Linked DNA regions of Homo sapiens: regions 2, 3, 4, 5, 6 and 7 are each linked to region 1. The links are contacts of gene promoters, found by promoter capture Hi-C in blood cells and fetal thymus (Javierre and others, 2016). All regions are on one chromosome and are shown on one strand. Each heading gives the region's core, a stretch centred on a gene start or on the middle of the fragment in contact. The rest is flanking DNA. Distances are from core to core; before and after follow the strand shown. Region 1 holds the start of CALCRL (calcitonin receptor like receptor). Region 2 overlaps ITGAV (integrin subunit alpha V). Region 3 overlaps LOC124906105 (a long non-coding RNA gene). Region 4 holds the start of LOC124907920. Region 5 has its middle 33 kb from the start of ZSWIM2. Region 6 overlaps ZSWIM2 (zinc finger SWIM-type containing 2). Region 7 overlaps LOC105373785 (a long non-coding RNA gene).

Region 1 (2,748 bases), core at 122-2,621:
ATGTGCCAGATATAAGTGATTAAGTACAGGATGCTTCCAATGCAGGACATCTTGGAAAGTATAATTGCATTTAGGTAAGAAAATATATAACTTAAAAATCATATCTATCAACATCATTTAAAATTTGACATCAAACTTTCTCCAGCAACAAATTTGTGATATATCTACACAAACAATTTATTAAGCAGACATTAGTTTCTTAAATTGTTCAGGACAGTCTGTACTATCGGAATGAGCATTAACAGATGTTTTATCCAACATTTCAGTAAGTTCCATCCTGGAAATTCTTTTTTAATAAATACTTTAATTTCTTTGTTTAATCGTCTAATATACTTCTTTGGGAAAGCTGTCACGTTTCTTTATCCACAGATATCGTGGTATCACACCCCCCTCCAAAAGCTTGCAGAGGGGAACCAGTCAAGTTGAAGTATTCTCTTAAAGATTTCAAAATTAAGAATTGTTTTAAAAATCTACATTTCCTAAACTCTAGGTTTTTTTTTTTCTTTGTAGCCGACACCATGATCCAAATAAAGAGCAAACAGTTCAGGGTTAGCAGAAGAGAGATTTAAACACATCTGGCAACAATGAACACAAAAATTAGTTCAGTAGTTACAGATATATGTGTAAATAAAGGTGAAAGGCAAATAAAAGCAAATGTAATAAATACAAAGTGATTACTTTTCAAAACTCTGCATTATGATCAACCACAGAGTAAGTGAGACTCCGAGACCCATTAAGTAGTTATTCTTTCACCTCTTTCTTACAGCTGATAACATGGAAAGTTTAAAGACCCTTCCGGGGGGAGAAATGTTTTCCAGTTGTCAAGATTCAAGCTTAGCTAATATTAGAGCTAATTTTAAAAGACATTGTTCTGTGATTAAGGTATTTGTTCAGAAATATGTCTTTTAATCCATTTAGATTTTTAATACTTGCTAAATTTATTTTCTAGAATACCATGGTAAACAATATTATCTAGTAGTATTAGATTTTGTATTCATGTTGGGGTAGTAGGCTGTATTTTCTCTAGCATGTGAAATAAGTGAGACTATGTTTCAACATTATTTCAGTGCTATCTACTAAATTCTATAATAGAAACATTGCCAAACTATATGAGAATACTACTTAGAATAAATATATTTATTTTGAATGTGCACTTACCCAGTCCAGCTCTTAAGGAAATTCTTTGTGAAATATTCTCAGGATGGAACTTTACTTTCTGAGATTCCGCAGAAGAGATTTACCCACAAGCAAGGTGGGAAAGAGTGAAAGCTTTGCAATGTGATCCTGCAATTAGGATGAGATTCAGTTAGCAGAGCTTGATGGTCCTAAAGCAGGAGGTGACACTCTCTGCTGGAGAGAGAGAGGTTGTTCTGAGTAGATTGTAAGTGTTGTCAGATTGTAAGTGATCAGCAGCAGAAGGGAAACATCAGAGCTTCCTGTTACATCACTCTGACCCCGCCTGCAGTTAGTGTTAGGTTACTTTCTTTCTCAAATAGCATACCCCAGGAAAGCAGCACTCCTTTCTTATTGTGAGACAAGAGCAAGAAGCAGCCTGAACAGAGAGAGATCATAGGCTGTGTGAATACATTGTTACCAGTAAAAAGCTGGCTGGCTTTCACCTTGACTGAGTTCTGTTAGAACTTGCCAAACAAGCTACTTGTGATTTGAAGGAAATCTGAATATAGTATTCTGCTCAAAGAATCAAAGGAGTTAGGCGTGTGTGTGTGTGTGTGTGTGTGTGTGTGTGTGTGTGTGTTGAATTATAGCTTACAAAGTATCCAGGAAAAAAAATCTAACAAATCTGTGTTCATAGCACAACACAGAAAAAAAAATTAACTGTATTCATCATAACTGGTTTTGTGATTTGGCTCTTCTTAATTTGGAGCTCTGCTAATTGGGTGCTGTTCCTCCATCAGTTCCTAAGTGCAGTTCCTAATCAGTTAATTAGATCAAGAAACTTTATCCTGCAGTTTTTAAATCTTTTATTTTTTCCTTTACCTTCTTCATAAGAACATGAGTGTATGTGTTATAAATTCAGGTTGTGTATGTGTGTGTATAGAGTGTTTCTTTTATAATATATAAGTATATATATTTGACAAAATAGCCTTTTGAATAATTCATAATTTTAAAATTATTGCACACATTTAAAAATATTTGGTATAATTATGTTATTTATAATATAAAATAATTTATACCACAATATTTGTAAGTCAATATAATCTTAAAGAAAATATAGATGTTGTAAACATAATATTATAAAATAATATAAATACAAAGGATACTTTATTTCTTAGACAAAATTTCATCTCAAAGCATAGTTTTTCCTGAATATGTTTAATACATCATTGGATATGATCAGGGGAAAATGTAAATTTAAAATGCTTTTATCATTTTTATAATTTGGTAAATGTTCGATATGAAGCAATAATTATAATCCCTATAACCTAAACAGCACTAAAAGTCACTTAATTTATCAGGGCATAAATTTTCTCATCTATAAACTAGAAGAGATAGATTTTATGTCTAAGGCTTTGAATCGACAAATTTCATAACATTTTGAAATAGATAAGATACGGTGAGGATCATTCAACTCTTAGTAAATTGTTAGTGCAATTCCAGGATAAAATGAGGTGCCATACACCTTGTAGGCAGACAAAGGAGGTAAAGGCAAAATAAATTCAGGAATATCATGTTTTTAAAGCAGGGTGCTCATGTTGACATTTTTATTGTCTGAATTAGTGGAAGAAA
Region 2 (2,949 bases), core at 49-2,548, 800 kb before region 1:
AAAGGATAAAAAGAATACTTTTACATAAGTTAGGTACTCATTTTTAAGGATAACAAATTCTTAGTTGGTGTTTACTGCAGGCCAGGCACTCTTCTAGGTGGTGAAAATGAGCATAAATCAGAGTCTACTCATGTCTTTAAGAAACTCAGCATCCAATGGGGGCAGCATATATGTTTAAAAAAAAAAAAGTACCTCAATGTGATCATCACAGTGTTTGAGATCCCAGGCTTAATGGTCTCATATAAAGGATGAGTGATCAAGGCATCGTTGATGTTTCAGGGGAGCCAGGAGATGATGAGGCATGGCTTATTAAGGAGCTATGAGACAGCTCGTGTACATTAAGGAAATTGAGGCAATTTGTTATGACTGGTACGTAGGGTCTGTGATAGGCAAGATACGACATGTCCTTGGTCTCATGAAGCTTATGTTCTATAGCTTACTTACTTTGTGTAGTCATAGAATAAGTAAACAATGGGGAAATCCAGATAGTGATAAAGATGATGGATTTTTTAGAAGGCAAGGTAATATAATAGAGTTTCGGGATAGAGAGGGTGATAGAGAAAGTAGGGGGTCGAGAGGGGTGGTGCACTGCTGCGTAGGGTGGCTAGGGAATAGCTTGCTGACAGAATGACAGCTGATCTAATGACAGAACGACATTGATCTATCATTTGGACAAATAGAAGGAATAGAGTTGTAAAAGCTCTGGAGCAAAAGGCAGAGAGAATAGCAAATACAAGCCCATAGTTGGAAGCTAGCTTGGTGTGTTTAATAAACAGAAAAAAAGGCCAGGATTGCTGGAAAGAGTAAATAAGGGTAAAAAACTGGATGGCGTGGGGGTGGGGATGGGGAGAGGAATGAGATTTGCATGGTAAACAATGGAAATACCAGGTAGGGTTTAGAACTTACTCTAAATGCTTTGGGAACTAATTGAAGGATTTTAAGATGGGGATGGGTGTGACATGATATGGTGAATGTTTGGCCCTTTTGAAGAGAAAGTTACAGGCAAGAGTAGAAGTGGGAGGCCACTTAAAAGGCTGTTTAAGGCCGGGCGCGTGGTTCACGCCTGTAATCCCCCCACTTTGGGAGGCCGAGGTGTGTGGATCACGAGGTCAGGAGATCGAGACCATCCTGGCTAACACCGTGAAACCCCGTCTCTACTGAAAAAAAAACAAAAAAAATTAGCCGGGCATGGTGGCGGGCGCCTGTAGTCCTAGCTAATCGGGAGGCTAAGGCAGGAGAATGGTGTGAACCCAGGAGGTGGAGCTTGCAGTGAGCCAAGATTGTGCCACTGCACTCCAGCCTGGGGAAAAGAGCGGGACTCTGTCTCAAACAAACAAAAATTAAAAAGAAAAGAAAAAAAGGCTGTTTAAGTGCAAAATGCGGCAATGACTTGTCTAGGGTGGCAGCAGCAGAGAGAGAAGTGGGCAGATTGGTAATACATTTTAGAGGTAGAAAAGATAATTTGGTGTTTGGGGTTTTTTAAAGATTTAAAATGTTATTCATTTATCTTCTTTCAGTGTAAGTTGAGCAAGATCAAGATGAAGTCACAACTTACGAATTTCTGAGCAGATTGGCTTCTGTTCAGAAAAAACAATACCATCCATAAATAAATTATCTAGAATTTTGAGAGTGAAAATAAACTTTAGATGAATCTTTTGATGTGTCCTCCTCCATCCCCTACCCCTAGTTTTAATGAGGAAGCATTTGTGGTCCAGAAAGTTTAAGTGATTGGTTTAAGGTCAGAGCCAGATTATCTGGCCCTAAATTAATGTCTTTTCTGTACAGTTTTGCTTGAGTTTCCTTGAATTAGATTATTGCTTATGGATAAAGAGTACCCTACTGAACTTTGAATTAGTATTTATCATGATGAATGGGTTCTATAAATATTAAGATCTGTACAAATAATTACAAGTACTGAAACTTTCTTCTCTTCATCCTTGCCCTCTTCCCCCCTTCTCTCGTTCCTTCCTCATTCTTCCCTTTCTTTTCCTCCTCCTTACTTCTGTCATTCTCCTTCCCCCTCCTCTTTTTTTCCCCACAGATATTGCAATTGCTGCTCCATATGGGGGTGAAGATAAAAAAGGAATTGTTTATATCTTCAATGGAAGATCAACAGGCTTGAACGCAGTCCCATCTCAAATCCTTGAAGGGCAGTGGGCTGCTCGAAGCATGCCACCAAGCTTTGGCTATTCAATGAAAGGAGCCACAGATATAGACAAAAATGGATATCCAGGTGCTTTCTTATCAACACATAGAGCCCTTAGATTTTTCAGTCCTAATAGCAAATAGTATTAGTTACTGTTCTTGATTTATGTTATAAATTATTGCAATTCAGTATTTCATATGTTGATCAAACCTCTAAAATATTCAAGGCATCATTCCCGTCACCTAAGGGTATATGAAGAAAAGTCAGCTCTCTTTCCTGGGAGTGTACAGTGTACTCTGAGTTTCTCCTGTAGTCTTTAATGAAATGAGAAGAGTATTACAGAAGTTATAAACAAAAGTTAAATGCTCATTCTAAGCTGTTTTAATGTTAGCTATCTTTTTTATTTTTTTAATTATGTAGAATATATGTACTTGACTAATAGTTGTGATTTTTTTTTTTTTTTAAGACAAGGTATGTCTCTATTGCCCAGGCTGGAGTACAGTGGCACAATCTTGGCTCATTGCAGCCTCCACCTCCTGGGCTCAAGCCATCCTCCCACCTCAGCCTCCTTAGTAGCTGGGACTACAGGCAAGCACCACCATGCCTGGCTAATTTTTGCATGGTTTGTAAAGAGTGGTTTTTGCCATGTTGCCCAGGCTGGTCTTGAACTCATGAGCTCAAGCGATCCAACTGCCGTGGCCTCCCAAAGTGTTGGGAATACAGGCGTGAGCCACCGCACCCGGCCTTCATTGTGATTTTTTTTTCAAGTATATTATTTTATTTAATTCTCCCATTAATACATG
Region 3 (2,761 bases), core at 261-2,760, 860 kb before region 1:
TATTTAATATGGCTAAAGCTCCTTTGTGAGGTGGGAAGTGTTAAGAAATGAGAGTTGAGAGCATGACAATGCATAAGATCACCCTGAGGAGAACTGCAGTGATTCAAGAACAGAGACTTAGGGAATCCTAGCATTGAAGGGGTAGTTTAGGAAACATGGCCCAGAAAGGTAACAAGTTTACTGCCTGCCTTCTCTTCTTTCCCATTCACCCAAAGAGCAGAAGTGCTGGCCAGAATCTTTTCTGATACAGATCAGATAGGAAAGGGCAGCACTGGGAGTGGAAGTGGTTATGGGGGTGAAGAGAGAACAAGTCAGTCTCCCTAATAAACAGCCAAGAGAGGAGTGACAGGAGTGAGTTAGACAAGCAAACAGCAACAAAAATTCCAGGGCAGGGTTTAGTGGGTTAAAGTCTCCAGAGAAATTGAGAGTAGAAGAAGCAGATTTCTGAAGTTCCCATGGGTTATTAACTGAATCTCCTTTGAGGTTCTTTGAGAGAGATAAAATTTGAAATTCCTCTTAAATTATGGACTAAGTTCCTTTGTTTGCAGAGACAGAGCTGCGTGAAGCCCTGGTTTGATTATGGTTATTGAAGGACCTGTTGGACAGACACTAGGGGAACTAAGAGAGTGAAATAATAGTCATAAAAATTTACGGCAGGAGAATTGCTTGAACCCAGGACGCGGAGGTTGCAGTGAGCTGACATGGCGCCACTGCACTCCAGCCTGGTGACAGAGTGACACTTTGTTTCAAAAAAAAAAATTTATTATTGCTACCATGCTAAACTATTAGTCTTAAAAGTATTAATGGCAACAAGAACTGTTCAATTCTAAGAGATAGACATAGTATTACTCCCCTTTCCCTTTCATAGATAAGAAAACTGAGGCACAGATTGGTTGGATTGATTTCCCCAGGGTCATACAACTAGTAGTTGGCAAAGCCAGGAATGGAACCCAGGTGCTTTATTTTACAGAAACCACTGGAATCAAGATTTTTACTAAAGTATAGGGTAGTAGAGGATAAAATTCAAAGTACAAATTCTTTTTACTATCTAATATTTTATTTTCTAAGAAAAGGATTATATTCAATGAATACTTAATGTATACACAGAAGTTCTCCTTTTAAGTTGGAAAACTGTTATAATGTAGTTCAAAGAGTAGTGTCATGGGGGTAGGGGAGGGGCACCACCATTCTTTCGTAGACTAAAACATTCTTTTCTCTGTCCCATGCACATAGTACCAGGTGCAATGTGGATTTTGAATCAGCACTAGCTGAATTGACATGTTCTACAATACAATTTGCAAGGCACTGTGTGAGTGGCTGCTCGAGCATGGTCACACAAAGAGATGCCTGCATTTATAACCCCAAGTTTCTAAAGCCACTGGGTTAGTCTGCTTCATAGTTTCCTAATTGAAATGTATGTTTGCTTTTTTTTGTTGTTAGACAGTCTCGCTCTGTCACCCAGGCTGGAGCACAGTGGCCCACAATACCACAATATCTCGGCTCACTGTAGCCTCTGCCTTCCGGGTTCAAGCAATTCTCCTGCCTCAGTCTCCTGAGTAGCTGAGATTACAGGCACACACCACCATGCCTGGCTACTGTTTTTTCTTTTTTGAGATGGAGTCTCATTCTGTCATCCAGGCTGAAGTGCAGTGGCACGATCTTGGCTCACTGAAACCTCTGCTTCCCAGGTTCAAGTGATTCTCCTGCCTCAGCCTCCCAAGTAGCTGGGATTACAGGTGCCTGCCACTGCACCCAGCTAATTTTTGTATTTTTAGTAGAGATAGGCTTTCACCATCTTGGCCAGGCTGGTCTTGAACTCCTGACATCGTGATCCACCCACTTTGGACTCCCAAAGTGCTGGGATTACAGGTGTGAGTGAGCCACTGCGCCCGGCCAATTTTTGTATTTTTAGTAGAGACGGGGTTTCACTGTGTTGGCCAGGCTGGTCTTGAACTCCTGACCTCAGGTGATCCACCCACCTCGGCCTCCCAAAATGCTGGGATTACAGGCATGAGCCACAGTGCCTGGACTATTTGCTTTTTTAAAAAAAACAAATTCCTTGATTTTCAAGACTGCTCATTCAAAATAAACTCATAAAGAATGGCTCAACAGTAAGTGCTTTCAGTAAGTTGTAGCCCTATTTGGGGGTGTGTTGTTCACCCAAGTTTTGGTGGGTGTACATGTGTTGTCATTTCGTGGGCTTCTTCTTTTCCCTGGTCCTCTCACATTTCTTCACTCCACCTTGGTCTGTCGGACCCCTGTCCTGCGATCAGAAGTTGAGGAGTGGGAGACTTACTGGATCTAGCCAGAGTTTAAACTCTTCTGTCTTCCTTACCTGGATGGATTTCCAGGTAGACTGGTTGTCATGTTTTTAAGATATAAAAGACCCTTTGGGTTTATGCATACATATCAATAGCCTCTTTGGTGTATTAGGAAAGAAGGTGAGAAATAAGCTGTATTTGCATTTATGTGTAAGGATTTGTGTAGGATTTCTTCTCTCAATCAGTAATTTCTTTCAGGCAGATGCTAGACCATGCCTTGTAAAACATGCCAAAGGTTTTGCTGCATATCTTTTAGTCAAATTTAAAAATGGAAATATTTAATGCATTTTTTTTTTGAGATGGAGTCTCACTCTGTGGCCCAGGCTGGAGTGCAGTGGCACCATCTCAGCTTACTGCAGCCTCCGCCTTCCGGGTTCAAGCAATTCTCCTGCCTCAGCCTCCTGAGTAGCTGGGACTGCAGGCGCATGCCGCCACGCCCG
Region 4 (2,753 bases), core at 89-2,588, 930 kb before region 1:
TTGCATTTTAATTTTATCATGCTACCTTGCTAAACTCACTTATTCTAGTAGCTTTTTTGTTGATTTCACAACATTGTCTTCTACATAGACAAACTCCTCTGTAAATGAAGATGATTTTCTTTCTTTCCAATCTGAATACATTTTATTTCTTTGTCTTATGTTATTGCATGAGTCAGCGAACTTATAGACAGTTTTATTCTTTATGCACTGTCTATACCTGCTTTCATGCTACAATGGCAGAGTTGTGTAGTTGCCACAGAGACTGACAGAAAAAGTTGGTCAAATTCTGCCGTACTGTGCTGGTGATGAGAGCAAACATTCTTGCCTTGTTTGTGATCTTAAGTGGAAAGCATTCAGTCTTGCATGATTAAGTAATGACGTTAGCTGTATATCATAAATGCACTGAGGAAGTTTTTTTTCTGTTCCTAGTTTACTGAGACTTAGTGGGGGGTTGCTTTGTATTTTGTTTTAATCAAGAATGGATTTTGGATTTTGTCAAATCTTTTTCTCAATCTACTGAGATGATCAAATGGCTTTTTTAAAAACTTATTAATATGGTGAAAACAGCCTGAATTCCTAGGATAAACCCCACTTGATCCTGATACATTTTCTTTTTATATATTGTTGGATTTGATTTGATAAAACTTAGCGTACTTGTTTCTATGTTCATAATTGATGAATTAATCTGTAGTTTTTGTATCAGGATAATGCTGTTGAAACCAGCTCAATAGTCCCATAGACAGTTATTTTTGATTAAACATAGAAATTGACCCTTCTGCTGTTAAAGCTTGAAATTTATATAGGTTGGTGCAAAAGTAATTGTCAACTTTCGATCAACCCAAAGAACCAGCTTATGGTTTCACTGATTTTTCTCTATAAATTTGCTGTTTCACTGATTTCCCCTCTGATCTTTATTTCTTTTCTTCTGCTTACATGGGGTTTAATTTGCTTTTGTTCCTTAACCTAGCAGTTGAGGTTATTGATTGGATCCTTTTTCTAAAATAGGCATTGAGTACTACAGAACCCCCAGCTAATTCCTCACAGCTAGATCCTCATGTTTACCCAGGTAGCTTATGTTTTTAATCAACATTACTCTACTTTTGACAGAAATAGCTTTGCTAATATTGAGAAACTTAAGGTTTAAGACAACCTGAAAAGAATAATCTGATTTTTCTAATAAGATTCTTTTTTAATGGCCAACATGAATGATACTTTAAGCATTTGAGTAGAAATTCTTTATATATGAATGGAGTATGAAATATTAAAATCTCACTAAAATAACAGATGTAATATAAACGTCAAGAACTGTAGGAGAAATTAATAAAGAGGTCTATTGAATTGCATAAAGAGTGTTTTTGTTGTAATACATGTTTCCTTTGACTTCACTGTTTAAAGTGATTCCCCTAAATATGTTGCTTTTATGTTGAAGCCACAGTAACTACTAACAAATCATTTAAAACCCTATAGAACTTTATAGGAGCTGAAATATTCAGTGGATGACCTCAGAAAAGATACAGATATATCATTATGTCTCATTTTTATTTTCAGGTGTTCAGATTAAAACTATTGCTTTAAATTGGATATTAGAGCTCAAGAAATATTGAGACACGTTTGACCACTTTTGTTTCCTTGGTTCATTTACTTGTCCACATACTGAAGACTACTGTAAAAACAGGGAAAACATTTTTAAATGACAACTTGTTCAAAATCTAAACTTTAAAAACTAAGCTCTAGAAATTCAAGGAAAATAATAAGATGACATTTTGTTTTGCCTCAAGCCCTGAACACATCATTGGTATAATCATTTAGCTAATGTCAAACAACATAGTGTCTGGCAAGATTTTAGCTAGAGTCAACTATCAACTCTCCACAGCTTATCACTGAAATAACAAGCTTCGTGTGACCATATTAAAAATTATCAGTTTTACATTTGAAAGGCCCAGTGCCAACCTGGAAAAAATTGCTTGCATTGATGAGTAATAAATTCTACATTTTGCATATTCTCACAACTGCATGAATTCATTTCACAATGTTGGCAAATAATCTGAATTCTTGGTGGCACGGGTCCTCCGTATGCTGAGCGCCGGTCCCCTGGGCCCACTTTTCTTTCTCTATACTTTGTGTCTCTTTCTTTTCTCAGTCTCTCGTCCCACCCGACTGGAAACACCCACAGGTGTGGAGGGGCAGGCCACCCCTTCATCTGGTGCCCAACGTGGGTGCTTTTCTCTAGGTTGAAGGTATGCTCGAGCATGATCATTGAGGACAAGTCGACGAGATTCCCGAGTACGTCTACAGTCAGCCTTGTGACATTTGAAGTTCTACAATGAACCCGTCGGAGATGCAAAGAAAAGCACCTCCACGGAGACAGAGACACCGCAGTCGAGCACCATCGGCTCACAAGATGAACAGAATGGTGATGTCAGAAGAACAGATGAAGTTGCCATCCACCAAGAAGGCGGAGCCGCCGACATGGGCACAATTAAAGAAGCTGACACAGTTAGCTAAAAAAAAGCCTAGAGAACACAAAGGTGACACAAACTCCAGAGAACATGCTGCTTGCAGCTTTGAAGACTGTATCAACAGTGTCTGCAGGTGTACCCAGCAGCTCCGAAGAGAGCGACCATCGAGAACGAGCCATGATGACAACGGTGGTTTTGTCGAAAAGAAGGGGGAAATGTGGGGAAAAGAAAGAGATATCAGACTGTTACTGTGTCTATGTAGAAAGAAGTAAACATAAGAGACTCCATTTTGTT
Region 5 (3,087 bases), core at 60-2,559, 570 kb before region 1:
TAGTGTATTCGCTTGAGGATTTTTACATCTATGTCGAAAGTAGTATATTGAAGTCTGCTATTATTATTTTGTTGCCTATTTTGCCCTTCAATTCTGTCAATGATTGCTTCACATATTTAAGTGCTGTGATGTTGAGTGCAGATAGATGATAGATAGATAGATAGATAGATAGATAGATAGATAGATAGATAGATAGATAGTTATATCTTCCTGTTACAATAGTAACAAGTTGAACCTGTTCTTAACTTGTTATTATTATATCCTTCTTTGTCTCTTTGTGACACTTTATTAAAGTCAATTTTAATAAAGACATTTTATTAAAGTCAATTAATTAAAGTCAATTTTGTCTAAGTATGGCTATTCTTGCTCTTTTGGTTACCATTTGCCTGAAATATCTTTCTCCATCCTTTTATTTTCAGCCTATGTGTGTCATTAAATCTAAGGTGAGTCTCTTATAGTCAGCATATAGTTGGATCTTGTCTTTTTTTTAACCACTATGTCTACTCTAGATTTTTTTATTGTTGAGTTTAATCCGTGGACACTTAAAGTAATTATTGATAGGGAAAAATTTACTACCTCAGTTTTGTTAATTGCTTTCTATCTCATAGTTCTTTTGCCCCTCTTTTCCTCTCTTGTTGTCTTCCTTTGTGTTTCATTGATTTTTTTTTTTTTTGTAGGGACATGCTTTGATTCCTCTCTCATTTGTGTATCTTATATTGGCATTTTCTGTGTGGTTACCATGATGCTTACATAAAACATCTTATAGTTATAACAATCCATTTTAAGCTGATAACTTCAGTTCAATTGCATACAAAAACTACATTTTTGCCCCCTCTTCATGTTATTAATGTCACAAATTACATCTTTTAATATTGTGTATCTATTAACATTTTAATATAGTTGTAGTTATTTTCATACTTTCGTCTCTTAACTCTATACCAAAATTAAAAGTGATTTTTGCACTACAATTACGTTATTATTGTATTTTGTATTTGTCTATATATTTACCTTTATCAACAAGCTTTACAGTTTATATAATTGTATAGAAGTTGCTGTTGCTGTTTTATCTCTTTTATTTCAACTTGAAGGACTCTTTAGCATTTCTGGTAAAGCAGGTCTTACAGTGGTGAACTGTCTCAGCTTTTGCTTATCTGAGAAACTTTGTATTTTTCCTTTATTTTTGAGAAAGAGTTTCACCTAATCTAGTACTCTTTGTTGGCAGTTTTTTCATTTTAGCACTTTGAATATGCCATCAATACCATTACACTCTCTTCTCATCTGTAAGATTTCTGTAGAGAAGTATGCTGATAGTCTAATGGGAGTTGTCTTGTAAATCACAAGTTGCTACTCTCTTGCTGCTTTCAAAAGTCTTTCTTTGTCTGAATTTTGACAATTTGATTATAATGTGGCATGGCGTGGATTTCTTTGGATCTTCCTAATTTGGTTAGATTGGGTGTCTTAAATCTAGGTGTTTATTTTCTTCCCCAGATTTGGAAAGTTTTCATCAATTAAAAAAATAAATTTTATGTTTCTCTTCCTCTCTCTTCTTCTGCAATTTCCATAGTGCATATATTGGTCCACTTGATGGTGTTCTATAAGAAGCTTAGGTCGTCTTCACTTCTTTTCTTCTTTTCCTTTTTGTTCCTCTGACTGGGTAATTTAAAATGACTCAAGTTTAGTTATTCTCTTTTCTTCTTGGTCAAGTGTGCTGTTGAAACTCTTTAGTAAATTTTTTAGTTCACTCACTGCATTCTTCCTCTCCAAAATTTCTGTTAAGTTCTTTTTTATATTTTCTGTTTCTTTATTGAAATTATCTTTTTGTTCATGTATCATTTTTGCTCAGCTCATTGAGCATATTTATGGTTATTTCAAATTATTTGTTGGGAAATTTACATACCTTCATTTCTTTATGGTTGGTTTTTGGAATTTTTTTTTTTGTATCTTTGATTGGATTATTTTCCTCTTTTCCTTCATGTTCCTTGTAACTTTGTGTTGGTACCTATGCATTTGAAAAGACAGTCACCTCTCCTAGTCTTTACAGATTGACTTTATAAAAGGAAAAGACATTCACTAATCAGCTTAGCTAGAGATTTTGAGAATTTCTGAAACATTTTCTATGGATGTATCTTCTCTGAGCATGTTGCTCAGCTTGTTCTTGTTCTCAGTGGCCCGCAGGCATCTAGAAGATATTGGGTCTTATCAGCACCCCAAGTTTTACTAAACAGAAACCAGTGCCTCAGGCATCCCCTCCAAAAGCTGGATCTTTGGATGCATATTCCACTCTTCTCTTTTCCCCCTGAGGGAGAGTCCACTGAGCTATATTGTCTTCTCTCTGCTGTACCATGGGCCCTCTAGAGCAGGAGCACATTGCTCAGCTTGTTTTTCTTTTCATTGGTCCCTAGCCATCTAGATTATGCTGAGTGCTGTCCATGTTTTGAGATAAAAGAGACAGAAATCAGTCCCTTGGACAGCTCCCCCAAAAGCCAAAACACCTGTCCTGTTCTTTTCTTTGCAACCTGAGCAATAGACCATAAAGTCATTATCAGCGTCTGCCTGCTGTACTGTGGTCCCTCTGAAGCAACAGCATGCTATTCAGCTCTATTGTTCGTAGTGGCCCCCAGGCAGCCAGAGTATTCTGGGTCCCATCAGCATTCCAAGAAAGATCAGACAGAAGCTGATCCCCTTGGCAGCTTCCACTAAAGTCAGAACATTGGGCATGTATTTCCATCTTCTCTTTTACTCCCTAGGGAGAAGCCAGGAGCTGAGTGTTTCTTCCTGATCATGTGGCATTGTGCCAGGGAAAAGTACTGTGGCAAAAGAGAATAGGATGCTATGAATTTTTCTACTAGCTTTGATACAATTGGTTTCCTGTTTCCTTGGGGATAAAAAGAGTCTTTTAACTGGTTTCTAGATTTCTCATAAAGGGAATGAGGGTAGGTATTATTGAATCGATATCTCCATGAGAGGGAGGAGGGTCTGGGGCCTTTTATTCTGACATCTTGCTGATGTTACCTATAACATTTTTTTTGTGGTTGAGTTTTTAAAATATTTTGTGTAGAAATTAACATTAGTGTTTATTCATTGTAA
Region 6 (2,700 bases), core at 38-2,537, 610 kb before region 1:
TAGGCATAGCAATTAATTTATGTTTTATCGTGAGAATTGTGGGAAAGTTTGGGGGTTACTCACAGTGAAAATTGTTTGCTCTAATAATTACTATGTTTTTGTAGTTGTTGAAGTATAAGATATGAAATAAAACAAAACCTGTACTCATTGCCATTTGGAGTAGGGGGGACTGGATTAAATATTCAGTCAATCCAGTCAATGTCTCTCTGGCCCAATCTTCGGAATTTTTGGCAATGACTTCAAAGGTAGTTCAAAGAAAGTTACAGAGGGTGAGAGATCCAGCAAGGCTCTAAGCTTGGAAACCTATGTAGGCTAAAGCCACCTATCCTGTGTCCAGAGCTTCTAGGATGGGGTGCTACTTCAGACCCAATCTGGACCAGAGCTCAAACCAATACCCTTGAACAGGAGAAGAAAATAAAACGATTGGAGTTCCTGAGATACTGGACTGAGATAGAAGTCAGTCTGTGAGTCCTAAATAAGCAGTCGTCACACAAGTCAAACAGTATATGCAGGAAGAGGGAGGCTACAGAACGGGTACTCTAATGCTCAAAGTTTCCTGATGTAAAAAAATAAAAAAGAACACATGCTTATAATTTACGGATAACACTTACTTATAACACTTCCCCTCAATTGGAAACTGTTTGCAGTTATTACAGGGAATCCCAAGGTGTTTGTCCAGTCTCTCTTTTTCTGCTGCAGCTACTAGTTTGCTAGAGTTTTTGAATTCCTCCAAAATCAGTTTTAATGGTGCAAACTCTTTCCTGCACAGAGGACATTTCAACATGGAAGTGTTTGATGTACTCTGATAATTAGCTAAGATCTTCATGCATTTTATATGAATACTATTGCCACAGCCAAACCTATGAGAGATAAAATTGAAGTTTACCATTTGTATAGAGCAGTTTTACATATCCATTGTATATATATATATATATTATATATATATTTATATAAATAAAATTTCCTGTGCTACCATCTTTATTCCACAAAAAAATAGATTCTGAACTGATTTTCAGCTATAGCTTGATTACACACACACACTCACTCATTCTAGTAATCTATCATCTTTAATACATCAGAATTCCAAACTTAAATTTTCCTTCATTCCAATGAAATGGTGAAAGATTTTGCATCATTAAAATATTTTCATTTGTAAAGTGAGAATGAATATAGGCTTAACACAAAGGAGAATAATAATTATTATTATTTTAATAAAATGCTTCACTGAGAGCAGGGGTGCCACCATACTTTTCCAGAAGTCACACAATACATGGTAGTACCAAAGAAATATCTGCTGAGAGAAATACCATTTTGGAAAGTAGTTAATAATTTTACAATATGCAATAGAAGCAGACACATGAACAACTACAGTGTGGACAAAAGTTTTGTTAAATTATCAGAAGAAAAAAGAATGATCAGGAGAAAAAAATTGCAATGGAAAATGACTGTCCAAATTTTTCAAGTCCAACTTTATAGTGCTGTGAAGAAAAGTATGAACATTAGACTCTCAATAAAGATTTAAAGTATAATAAAAAAATTAAAAATAAAATAAAATAAAAGTAGACAGCTGATCTGAGGTCTAACAAAACAAGAATTGGTTATGTAGACAGAATGAAAGGGATGAAAGAAATATTATTGTTGGCATTAATGAGTAAAAAAAAAAAAAGATTTGTACATATGTGAAAATTGAATTATTTAGGTTTAAAGATAGAATTTTGAAAAACTAAAAATAATTTTTGTAATTTCAAAGTAAAATAATCTTTACTTTCAGAAAAGTCTTTATAACTATAATAAACCATCACATTTATTCATGTGTATAAAATAAAAACACAGAAATTACTCTACCCTTGTTACTTAAGGTGGGAAGAGGAATAATTGTGGAATTATGTTTCAGTTTTTACCCTTGTAGTGTAGCTCAGAAAGATTTAGAGTAAGAGCATATATTTAGCTCAAAACATATATATACACACACATATATATGTTGCTTCCTAACATATATGTTATATATAATATATATATTTCTATGATATATATTTATATATTATAGATATTATATTTATATTGTAATATATTATAATATATTTATATTATATATATTATATATATGTGTGTGTGTTAGGAAATAAAAGAATGTTAATTAAGTATAAATTAGCAGTAGGTAAAGTTGTCTATTTTTTCCCTATCATGTCTCCTAAGGTAATAAATCAGAAATATGTTTTAGAATTTTTAATTAGTTTTAAGAATCTAAAGAAAAAGTACATCACCTGCAAAAGGTGACAGGAAGCTTTTTCTCTAAAAGTAGCTCTTGACAAATAGAGCAGATATCCTCTGAATCAATTTCCTTCTGTTTAATGTACCCATCTTCTTCAACATGTTCATTTTCGTCATTTGTTCCTGGTTGGGGAGTTTGAACTCGATGTATCCCCCGAAGCAAGTCACTTATCTCTCTTTCTCCAAGACCCAGTTGTAAAGCAGCTAGTGAGAAATCCCAAAGTATTAAAATCCAGTCATAAAATTGGAGCTACAGAGAGGTAACAACTTATGCTGAAAGTTAGAATTTTCTTTCAAATATCAGAGAGACAGTTTTGATTGAATTATCACACTGACATTGACCCCTTCTTTACATTTTTTTCAGAGCCAAAATGTCAGAAAAGAGTCATTTAAAAAAATATAAAAATTATTATTTTTTCTTGTAACTGA
Region 7 (2,700 bases), core at 149-2,648, 970 kb before region 1:
TATTTCGCGTCCAGAGCACAAGTAAATATATTAGCAACGTTTTCCTTTCCACATTGCCCATTTCCCATTCCCCACTATTACAAACCCACATTCCATGACAAGCAGCTGAGGCATCATCAGGGGAACTCAAAAGAAAAGGCACCTACAAATGTATGCATACACCTAGTTAAAGACATTTATCCTTGTAAGTGCCATCTATTAATTTTGTTCCTTTATTGTGTAATCTTGGACTTAGGGACAAATAGCACATCACCATTATTATTGGAAAAATCCCCAGATGTATCAGGGTGATCATAACATCTTGGCACAGAAGATTTTGTTAAATTCATATTCAAAAGATAAGATAAATACCAAAACTAAATATACTCTTATAGCACAAATGGGGCAAGAACTCTCAGCCAGCTCTAGTTCTCGCTCATCATCTTTTTTTATTCCAAGACCAAGTCTCGCTCCTTGCGCAGGCTGGAGTGCAGTGGCACAATCTCTGCTCACTGCAACCTCCCCCTCCTAGGTTCAAGCTACTCTCGTGCCTCAGCCTTCCAAGTAGCTGGGATTACAGGCATGTGCCACCACGCCCAGCTAATTTTTGTGTTTTTAGTAGATACGGGGTATTGCCATGTTGCCAAACTAGTCTCGAACTCCTGGGCTCAAGTGATTCACATTTGGCCCCCCAAAGTGCTGAGATTACAGGCGTGAGCCACTGCACCCGGCCACCATCGCTCATTTTTAAAAGCACATTTATTGAGCTCTTTCTAAGAGACAGGTTGCATTAGGCACCTGATGGGAGCCAAGGTTCCTGCTCCCATGAAGCTTATATTCTGGGACAAGAGATACCCAAGTAAGAAATGAAGACATAAAAACACAAAGTAATTACAAATTAAGATAAATCTAAAATTAAAGGAGTGAAACACATGATGACATAGATATTAACTAGGAGCAGAGGGTAGAAGTTGTTTAGATGTAGTGGTCAGGGATAACTGTTTAGAAGAATTGCCACCTGAGCTGCTATCTGTAGGATGAAAATGAGTCAGCCATGTGGAGACCTGTGGGAAGAATATATCCAAAAAGGGAACAAGGGAAACGATACCTTAAATACAATGTCATAATTACAAAAAAGACCCCTCAAAAATGCCAGTTATCAGCAGATGGCAGTATCCATATATGTAAGAAAAGAAATATAGGTCAATAGAGTTGGAAATATACACTTGTTTCAGATAGCCATGTCTTAAATTGGATGTCCAGTATGATTCATCCTAATGTGGAATGAGTAAGTAGCCGTATTTAAGCCAACTCAAGGCAAAATTACCAGGCCCTGTTGATACTCTACTACCCAAAAAGTTCTTCTCCCTAGGGTCCCTGCCACAGTTGCCTCTTTTCACTTTCCTCCCTAAACTTCTTTTTCTGTATTTACCTTTTAAACATTGTTCCTCACATTTTTATTCTTTTTTGGCTCTCTACAATCTTTTTCAAAGTAATCCATTCCCATTGGCCACCATGTTCTAAACTCTCTTCTGAGTTTACAAGTCAAATATATACCATTGGATTTTGCCACATAAATGACGCACTAGGACCATAAATTCAGCAGAGCCAAAACTGGATATGTTATTTCTTGCCCTGGCCACACATTCCAATCATTGCCTATGTAACCTCCCTGGCACCCACATTGATCACTTGCCCATGCTTGCCACCTGGATCCTCTTCTACTTTCTGACTTCTTCCCCTCAGCTCCCACATTCAGTCACCCAATCTCCTGATTTTATATTCTCCATATTTACTGGAGTAAGCTCATTTAGAAATTAATGTATCAATGCTGAATTCCTTACTTCTTTACACTATGACCTGAATTATATAGTAGTATCCACTAATTATGTGTTTACATGTGCCAAGTACTCTAATAAGTGACTGACATGCATTATATCATTTCGTCCTTCCAATAGCCCTATGAGCTAGGAACAGTATTATTCCTCTTTTATATATAAGAAGAGTAAAGCTTACCAGTGTCCAACAATTTGCCTAAAGTCACCTATATAAGTGGAAGGGAAGAAATTTAACCCACATATTTTGACTATAAAACATGACCTTTTATACAGTGTGTCATAAAAGAGAAATGGAAAATTAGCTTTCATAAGAAGAATCTAATTTGATAGTTCTTTTAGGAACAACTTTCCCACTTCAAAGGTTTTAGGATTCAAGGATAAATGACACTAAATCCAGCTATAAGGTGAGATGGTATTCAATCCATTAAAACAGTGGTTCTGAAATGTTTTCAGGTAGCAAATACCTGGAACTTGTGGTGTTATATGGAAAAATTTAAAATATATTAATAAATTTAATTTCACCAAAAAGACTGTAACATAAGACCATATTTTACATAAATGTCCCCACATTATTTTGAATATATAGGTTTTCCAGTCACATGAAATATTTGATCCATTACTGTTTCTTTTTTTTTTTAATCTGCTAGGTGAAAAATGCTAGCAATCTACTAATTTTTTAAGAATGACTATGAGGGAAAAAAGCTTAAAATTGAAAAAAAATATTTTTCTGTTAATTAGAAATACATCATCATTCAATTTAGTAGATCATCTTAGTCCAACCTACTGAACTCTTTCATATGAGCATAATTTGAGAACCACTAAAATATACATTTATTAAGCACCTATATTTAAGAAAATATGCAATGCGTTATGGGAAAACAAT

The links. The method cuts DNA at HindIII sites, captures the fragments that hold promoters and counts their contacts. A CHiCAGO score of 5 or more calls a contact.
Region 2: a contact is called between a fragment that was not itself captured here and the fragment with the promoter of CALCRL in region 1, in 1 of 17 cell types (M0 macrophages). The highest score is 5.4, in M0 macrophages.
Region 3: a contact is called between a fragment that was not itself captured here and the fragment with the promoter of CALCRL in region 1, in 2 of 17 cell types (fetal thymus and monocytes). The highest score is 7.7, in fetal thymus.
Region 4: a contact is called between a fragment that was not itself captured here and the fragment with the promoter of CALCRL in region 1, in 1 of 17 cell types (monocytes). The highest score is 6.2, in monocytes.
Region 5: a contact is called between a fragment that was not itself captured here and the fragment with the promoter of CALCRL in region 1, in 8 of 17 cell types (megakaryocytes, endothelial precursors, M0 macrophages and 5 more). The highest score is 18.2, in megakaryocytes.
Region 6: a contact is called between a fragment that was not itself captured here and the fragment with the promoter of CALCRL in region 1, in 1 of 17 cell types (monocytes). The highest score is 6.8, in monocytes.
Region 7: a fragment that was not itself captured here is called in contact with the fragment with the promoter of CALCRL in region 1 in 2 of 17 cell types (monocytes and fetal thymus); the score reaches 9.1 in monocytes.

Annotation. Positions count from the first base shown.
Region 1 is chr2:187,446,881-187,449,628 of GRCh38, forward strand. CALCRL (calcitonin receptor like receptor) reads right to left here and starts at 1,372. Exons shown (of 15, transcript NM_005795.6): 1 at 1,159-1,372. All of the region lies in intron 2 of CALCRL-AS1 (CALCRL and TFPI antisense RNA 1), which reads left to right. The HindIII fragment of the contact is 1,657 bases long and covers 1,268-2,748 here.
Region 2 is chr2:186,644,645-186,647,593 of GRCh38, forward strand. It overlaps ITGAV (integrin subunit alpha V), which reads left to right. Exons shown (of 30, transcript NM_002210.5): 13 at 2,042-2,233. Among named protein-coding and RNA genes, the nearest start is that of FAM171B, 48 kb to the right of the region's middle. The HindIII fragment of the contact is 1,759 bases long and covers 420-2,178 here.
Region 3 is chr2:186,585,655-186,588,415 of GRCh38, forward strand. All of the region lies in intron 1 of LOC124906105 (a long non-coding RNA gene), which reads right to left. Among named protein-coding and RNA genes, the nearest start is that of ITGAV, 3.0 kb to the right of the region's middle. The HindIII fragment of the contact is 4,635 bases long and covers 1-2,761 here.
Region 4 is chr2:186,518,854-186,521,606 of GRCh38, forward strand. It overlaps LOC124907920, which reads left to right and starts at 2,228. Exons shown (of 1, transcript XM_047446761.1): 1 at 2,228-2,746. The coding sequence starts at 2,324. The coding sequence ends at 2,731. The HindIII fragment of the contact is 1,106 bases long and covers 786-1,891 here.
Region 5 is chr2:186,880,129-186,883,215 of GRCh38, forward strand. No RefSeq gene overlaps it. Among named protein-coding and RNA genes, the nearest start is that of ZSWIM2, 33 kb to the left of the region's middle. The HindIII fragment of the contact is 581 bases long and covers 1,020-1,600 here.
Region 6 is chr2:186,836,695-186,839,394 of GRCh38, forward strand. It overlaps ZSWIM2 (zinc finger SWIM-type containing 2), which reads right to left. Exons shown (of 9, transcript NM_182521.3): 4 at 2,265-2,475; 5 at 612-860. Among named protein-coding and RNA genes, the nearest start is that of ZSWIM2, 11 kb to the right of the region's middle. The HindIII fragment of the contact is 1,990 bases long and covers 293-2,282 here.
Region 7 is chr2:186,479,551-186,482,250 of GRCh38, forward strand. The region is part of intron 1 of LOC105373785 (a long non-coding RNA gene); the gene reads right to left. Among named protein-coding and RNA genes, the nearest start is that of ZC3H15, 5.4 kb to the right of the region's middle. The HindIII fragment of the contact is 1,180 bases long and covers 809-1,988 here.